2 separate regions of the Homo sapiens genome follow, and region 1 is linked to region 2. The links are contacts of gene promoters, found by promoter capture Hi-C in blood cells and fetal thymus (Javierre and others, 2016). All regions are on one chromosome and are shown on one strand. Each heading gives the region's core, a stretch centred on a gene start or on the middle of the fragment in contact. The rest is flanking DNA. Distances are from core to core; before and after follow the strand shown. Region 1 has its middle 5.5 kb from the start of LINC02696. Region 2 holds the start of CHST1 (carbohydrate sulfotransferase 1).

Region 1 (3,914 bases), core at 1,415-3,914, 320 kb before region 2:
AGCTCTTAATCAGGAAAACGGAGAGATGATTGTCGTTAACATAAAACACGGAACCCTGGGACCAGCTTTCTGTCTGCCCCAAAAACCAGCTGCTTCCAAGCCCCTCTAATTCCTGGTTCTCTGGGAAGGTGCTAGTCCAGTGACTTTTATCCAGGGGTCCACGGACCCGTAACATGTTTGTGGAGGGAATTCAGGGGTCTGTGAACTCAAATGAGGAAAAATATATCTATGTTTGCTAACTTCCAACCGAAATGTAGCACTTTGGTTTGGAAAGCAGGCAACAAACCATAGTAATGTTATCAGTCCTCATTGTCACCAATAGAAATCACCGACATTTTCATGTATTACAGTTGCTACAGATATGTTGAAATCAAGCTCAGGCTCATCTGTGCAGCAAAATTGGCAATTAGATCCACTATTAGACCTTGTAACATAAAAGCATAAATAAAGAAGCATATATCGGCCAGGTATGGTGGCTCACGCCTGTAGTCCCAGCATTTTGGGATGCTGAAGCAGGCAGATCACTTGAGGTCAGGAGTTCGAGACCAGTCTAGTCAACATGGTGAAACCCTGTCTCAACTAAAAATACAAAAATTAGCCAGGCATGGTGGCAGGAACCTGTAATCACAGCTACTCTGGAGGCTGAAGCAGGAGAATCACTTGAACCCAGGAGGCAGAGGTTGCAGTGAGCTGAGATCGCAACACTGCACTCCAGCTTGGGTGACAGAGGGAGACTCCATCTCAAAAAAAAAAAAAAAGGAGCATATGTATGATTCAATCACCATTTTAAAATATATTTTGTATTTCAATAAGGCTGTAATCATATGTGTCTTCAGCATTTAAAAAGTTTTATTCCAAGGTGCCCCTAGGCTTCCCTGCCAGAGGTATCCCTGACATGAAAGAGGTTAAGAAGCCCTATCTAGACAAAAAAAGGCAGGCCTTATTTAGACCAGGGAGTAGTATTAATAGAAGGAGCAAGGCAGGGCAAAGGTACTATCTTTGATCCCGGCAAAGTACAGCTGGATATGGCAAAGCAATGCCTGACCCAACCTGAATGCCAGGTAGCCAGACAAACCAGTGTGGTCTAGAACAGTCTAGAAGAGCAAATTGCCTGGAAGGGTGCTGCTCATGACAATCCCAGGAAGCACAAACAAGGGAGCCCTTGAGGAAAATCTCCCCCAAAGTACCTGTGGTCACTGTTTAAAGCTCTGGCTTTGACCCAGGTCAGACCTGGCTCAATCCTGGCTTCATAATCACCTTTGGCAAGAAATGGTTCACCTAATCAGGGTGAACCTCAGTTTCTCTCTCCATCTGTAAAATGGTAATAATACCTCCCTTAAGTTTTTGTTAAAGTTATGTAATTTATTCATAAATATGTTAAACAAAGAAAGCAAATTACAGAATGATAGATACTTCATTTATGTACAATATTAAGTAATACAAAACTATGTTATATAATGTTTATAAAGACTTCTGCACTAATATAGAAAATTATGCGTGGGGATCAAAAACACCAAATTCAATTTCCTAGTGCTTATATATAGGAAATGGGGGAAAATAGGTTTGGGATAAAAAAATGATCTGTGTTTGTAAGTGGAGAATCTGAAATAAATACATATGGCAAAGATTAAGATTTGATAATGCTTTCTTTTAACCTTTATTTAAGTGACCTACAATAAGCTGAACACTTAAAAACATACAATTTAATAAGTTTTGGCATATGTATACTCTCATGAAACCATTACCATAATCCAGATAATGAACATATCCATCATTCCCAAATGTTACCTCATTACAACATGCCATGTTGTAATGGCTCATCTGGCAGCCTGACTTGAGAGTGTGTGCCTTCATCCTCCTGAAGAGGGTCAACTGTATTCCTTTATTATCTTGCTTATTCTGGAGAACCTGTAGTAATATCCTCTGTTTCATTCCTAATATTGGTGATATTAGAATGTTACCTAATATTCTTCTTTTTTGTCTGTCTTGCTAGAGTTTTATCCTTTAGAAAATATTTTCAAAAAACCAGCTCTTTTTTTTTAGTTGCTTTAATAGTTTTATTGCTTTCTATTTCTTGACTTTGCTCTTTATTATTTCTTTCTTTCAGCTTGTTATGGGTTTAATTTGCTTTTCTTTTTCTAGGTACTGTAGTTGGGAGCTAAGATTGTTGATGAGAGTTTTCCTTTCTTCTAATGTATGCTATGCATTTAGTGCTATAAATTTCCCTCAGCACTGCTTAGCTCTCTTCTACAAATTTTGATATGCTTATTTTCATTTTCATCCAGTACAGCATATTCTTTTGTTTCCCTTGAGACTTCCACTTTGACCCATGGAATATTTAGAAACGTGTTGCTTAGTTTCCACCTGTTTGGGTGAGTTTACTGTCATCTTTCTGTTGCCGTTCTCTAATTTGATTCCACAGTGGTCAGAGAACACACTTGGTATGATTTTAACTCTTTCAAATGCGTTAAAGTCTGTTTCATAGCCCAGAATGTGGTCGATTTTTGGAGTATGTTCCCTGGGCACTTAAAAAGAACATACCTTCTGTTGTCAGGTGGAGCATTCTATGAATGCTGATAAGATCATTTTGATTGATAGTGTTGCTGAATTTTTCTATATCCTTGCTGATTTTCTGTCTAGCTGTCCCATTAATTATTGAGAGAGGGGTGTGGATTTGTCCAGTTCTCCTTTTAACGTATCTATTTTTTGCTTCACATATTTTGCAGCTGTTATTTGGTGTGTACACATTTAGGGTTGATATTTCTTCTTGATGGATTGACCCTTTTATCATTTTGTCACATTGTTCTCTATCTCTGGTAATTTTCTTTGCCCTGAAATTTACCTTATCTGATGCTAATATAGCTACTCCCACTTTGATTGTTTGCATGATATATTTTTTCCATCCTTTCACTTTCAATCTGCCTATATTGTTAAATTTGAAGTGAGAATTTCTTACAGGTGGCATGTAGCTAGGTCATCATTTTCCTCTACTCTGCCAATCTGTGTGTTTTAATTGGTGTATTTAGACCATTGACATTTAATGTAATTATTGATATGTTAAGGTTTAAGTCTACCATTTTGTATTTTCTATTCTCATTTCTGTTTTCTCTTTCTTGCCTTCCTGTGAGTTATTTTAACTTTTTTGTTGAATCTCATTTTTATTTATCTAGTGTTTTTGAGTGTCTTTCTGTATATTCTTTTTAGTGGTTGCTCTAGGTATTTCATTTAATATATACATAATATCGCATTCTCTGGGGTCATCATTTTACCAATTTGAATGCAGTGGAGAAATTTTTACCATCCTCTATATCCCTTTACCTTCTCCCACTTATAATTGTCTTAAATATTTCCTCTACAAACATTTAGATAGATATCAGCAGATACAGGGGAAGTACTTTTTTGTTTGTTTTGTTGGTGGTCTTTGGCTGGAGTCAAGCAGTTATTGTCCAAAAGCCTTCTGTCTTGCTAAGTTGCCCCATTCTTAGTCCTTTATCTTAAGAAAGGTGGCTTTTCTTGGGACTTTTTTTTTTTTTTTGTCTGATGCCGTTAGCATTACTGGGTCACTGGCTTCCTCAGCTCTAGGTTTGGAATATATGAGGCAAAGGAAAACCCAGAAAATTTGCCAGCATGGTGCTCCTTAGATCACAAGGTTCCTAGTCATTCCACCTTTCTAAGTCTTCTTATGTTTGTTTTTTGTATAATGCCCAGGGGTTTTAGTTGCACTTTGTGGGAGGAAGAAGAGAAAGTACATTTACTCCATTTTCCTGGAAGCAGAAGCCCTGATGCATTTCTAAAGCTGGCCTCTTGTTCCACTTTCACAAAAGACATTTCCCTATGAAAGAGCGTTAACATCCCACTGCTCTTCAAAATGGAAAACAAGTTTGCAGTAAGAGACAAGATGATCAGCAAGGTTT
Region 2 (3,693 bases), core at 117-2,616:
CTCCCTGTCAATGGCCGGCCCAAGCCCGTCTTCAGGCACCTGGACCCTAGGAGTGGCCCTTCCTAGGGAGTCCGCTGCCGAAGAGCAGTTTTAAGTCCACCAAGAGGAAGCCGGCCCCAGAGCTGAGGAAGGCAGTCCTGTGAAAGGGCAGGCCCGGGGTGGGGGAGGGGGCACACCTGAAATCAGGCCAAGGTGCCACTCCAGGACGACCCCCGGGTCTTACCTTCCTCAGGCAGCCTGGCCTTTTAACGCCCAGCATCCCAGCTAGGGTTACTCTGGGCTGTTACCGCGAAAGCCAGCACTGGGTCCCTGGAGCCTGGGAGGGGCTGATCCCCGGGTCCTACCCAGAGAAGAGCGGGAGGGTTGTTCCGGCTTTCCGTGGTGGGCTCTGCACCATCCGGCGGCTCCGGCCCCACAGGGGCCCAGCTCATCGCAGCGGTCTGGGTGCGGAGGCCGGGCCAGGGCTGGGAGCAGGAAGCAGGGAGCGGCGCCCCCGCCTCCGGGTGCAGCTGGGTTTGGAAAGTTGGTGCGGGCGCGGGGACCTCAGGGTCTCAAGGCGCCTCCGCAGACCCGAGCCAGGCGGGTCGTGGGACGGTGAGCCCGGAGCAGCCCCTGAGTGCGCTCCGCAGCGGAGGGGAGCCAAGCGCCTCGGGGGCCACCGCGCGTCTCAAGTTTGCTGCCCTCCTCGAATGGGGGCAGGGAGGGCTGAGGTGATCGCGGCGCTCACCGGCCACCAGCCCCGGCAGCCCCTTCCTGCGCCCAACACGCCGCCGTTCCTCGCCGCCGCCACCCCTCCGCTCACCGCCGGTAGCTGCTGTCCCCGAGCGGAGGGGCGTCTCCCACCGCGCCCGCGCCCCTCCCGGCTGCTGCGGCGGAGTGTCCGCTCCCGCCCGCCCCGGAGCCCGCGGGGCCCGGCCAATACCTGGTCGGGGACGCGCCGGGAGCAGCTGCAGCGCCCAGCGCCGGCTCCATCCTCGGGTCTGGAGTCAGGGTCGCCGGGGACCCGCGGGTGGCGGCGGCGGCAGCAGCCGCGGCGGCATCCTCCGCCTCCCGCGCCCTCCTCCTCGGCCTCCCTCCTCCCTCCTCTTCCTCCGACTCCGCGCGCGCCTCACGGGCCCCTCTTCATGGCCCGGGGGCGCGAGCCCGGGGCGGCTCGAGCAGCTGAGTGCGTTCTCTCCGGCCGGACGCGGGACCCGGGGCCGGGGCTCAGGGACCCGAGAGATGCCGGGACAGGGGCCGGGACCCGGAGCGCCGCAGCCCCGGGCGCCGGAGGAGAGCAGCAGCCGCAGGCACCAGAGCCTCTCGGAGCGCCCGCCCGCGTCCCCGAGCCAAGAGCAGCGGCGGCAGCGGCGGCTACAGCTCCGAGCGAGCGGCAGGCGCTGCGGTCCCGGCTCCACCCCCGAGCCGCCCGCCCCTTCTCCTCCCCACCCCTTCGGCGCGCGCCTTCCCGCCCCCCGCGCCGCCCCAGCCGCGAGCGCCCTGGACACCCACTCCGCAGCCAGGCTCCGGAGCCCGCCCCCACCCACCCGCCGGGGGCAGCCACGCCCACCACCCGGACTTCGGGCGGCCGGCGGGCAAGGGCACCGGCTGTCTCTGGCACCTCTCCGCGTAGCCTCCCTTCCCCTTACCCCCGAGGGCGCTGCTGGCCGGGCCGCCAAAGCCTTTCGCCCCCCCAGCGCCCCTCGCCGCGGAAGTCCTGCTGGAGTCCCAGCCTGGCCCCTGGCCCAGCTGTCCTTTACCTCTTGCCCAGCCAGCGGCACAGAGGGACTTCAGAACCCAGAACTGAAGCCAACCATCTCTGTGTGCAATACCCTGACACACACCCCTAGCCTTTCCTCCTTCCCCGCCCCTCTGCTTCTCAAGTGTGGGGATGAATCATTTGTCCCCGCTGCAGTTGTCCCTCTTGGGCAGGGTCAGGGGGTGTCTTAATGGGACCTTAGAGTGGGTTTGCTGGCTGACCGTCTTCTAGGCCGCTCCTCCACACTGCCCACCTTCTTCCTACCAGACTGCCCCTGGCTTTCTAGGTGGCAATCTGGAGCCACCACTGCTTTTATGGATGAGGGATGGGGACAGAGCTGGCCAGCCGAGCACCTTGGGCCTGTATCCTCTGCACAAATATTGACTGAGCATCTTCCACAGGCCTGGCCTTCATGGGCACCAGGGACTGGTTGATGAACCTCTCAGAGTGGAGTGGAGGAGAAGCAGGGTGCATGAGCAGAGCAATATCATGTGATCAGTGGCCCCTGGGCTGGAGAGGACGGCCAGGAGTCCCAGCTCTGCCACCACATCTGACATGACTGAGGCTGCCCACCCCAGTGGCCTGTTTCCTCATCTGGAGACTAGGAAGGTGCTTTGTCTGGCTGAACCTCTGATGCTCCTCAGTTCTGACCAAATGGTTATTTCTGAAGCAGAGGAACAGTCAGCCTTCATCTCCACCTGGAATCTCTGATTCCCGACTATAGCTCTCCATCACTCCTGGACTGGGGCGCAGAGAGCAGTGGATGGCTTGAAAACTCCAGGCATTCTGGGAAAGCCTCGTCCCCGATGTATGGGCAAGCAGCTGCTGCCTCCATCCCACACAGTGAAGCACAGCAGAATGGTTAGCACAGCAGTTTCCTGGGTCAGAGGAACCTGCTGTGTGTTTGCTGGGTGACTTTGTGTGAGTGATCAGCCTCTCTGCGGCTCAGTTTCCTCATCCAGAAGACAGAGGTACTGATCCTCACCCTGTAGGGGTGTTGTGAACACTGGATGGTAATGTGTGTAGAGCATTCAGCAGTGTCTGGCAAGGGGGTGAGTACTTAATAATTGCACATTGTTGCGTTCAGGGTAGCCAGGAACAAACATTCACTCACTCGCCAAGAGGAGAACATGACAGCTGCACTTCCCTGGAGGACTGGGCTCTCGGGTCATCAAGAAGGTCTCCCTCTCTCCACCCAGAGCAGATGGTATGAAGGCCCTTGCCCCAAGGGTCCCACTAGACCAAATGGTCATTTATCTTGGTCACAATTGCAAACTCATAACTATAAACTCCTCTCCCCCATCTCCACCCCCATCAAGCTGGAGGGGCTAACAGCACCTTCCAGTGCGCATTCCTGTAGCCACAGCACCTGGGATGGCAGAGTCAGTCCTCAGTCCTGACTCCAAGGCTACCAAGTCTGTTTCTCCACCTGCCTTCCCCCTCCCCACCCCCACCCAGGGAGTGGCAGCGTACTGAGATGCCTAACAAGAGTGGTGCTGACCTTCCAAAAGCTAAGACTTCATGTTTCCAAATCGTGACTGTCCCTCTATAAAAAACCAAGCTCTAATAGCCTTGGGCTGAGCCATCAGAACCTTCCTTTTCACCCAGAGTTAATCCCTCCCCAAGTTTTCAGGCTGACGAGAATAGTCAGGGTTTAGAGAAAGCTTTCTCTATCTTGCACTACCAGATCCAGCGCCTCATTTTTCAAATTCTGGTGTATTTCGGGTAGAGAGGAGGGAAAAGTACATCTGGCTGACATGAAAAGATTGGTGTGGTTGTAATGTAAAGACAGAGTGGAATTTGGGAAATTTTTGAAGAACATTTAAACTCTAAAAATAGACAAAAGACCCGCTCTCAGAAACACTAGGATTCTGTCTCCCATTTCCTGGAATCCCCCACTTGACAAACATGGGTGTTTTAGGAGTGCCTATGGTGTGGATTGCACTGTGACAGGT

What was found. The method cuts DNA at HindIII sites, captures the fragments that hold promoters and counts their contacts. A CHiCAGO score of 5 or more calls a contact.
Region 1: a fragment that was not itself captured here is called in contact with the fragment with the promoter of CHST1 in region 2 in 4 of 17 cell types (megakaryocytes, endothelial precursors, M2 macrophages and 1 more); the score reaches 5.6 in megakaryocytes.

Annotation. Positions count from the first base shown.
Region 1 is chr11:45,347,905-45,351,818 of GRCh38, forward strand. No RefSeq gene overlaps it. Among named protein-coding and RNA genes, the nearest start is that of LINC02696, 5.5 kb to the right of the region's middle. The HindIII fragment of the contact is 5,570 bases long and covers 1-3,914 here.
Region 2 is chr11:45,664,256-45,667,948 of GRCh38, forward strand. CHST1 (carbohydrate sulfotransferase 1) reads right to left here and starts at 1,367. Exons shown (of 4, transcript NM_003654.6): 1 at 923-1,367. The HindIII fragment of the contact is 4,208 bases long and covers 1-3,400 here.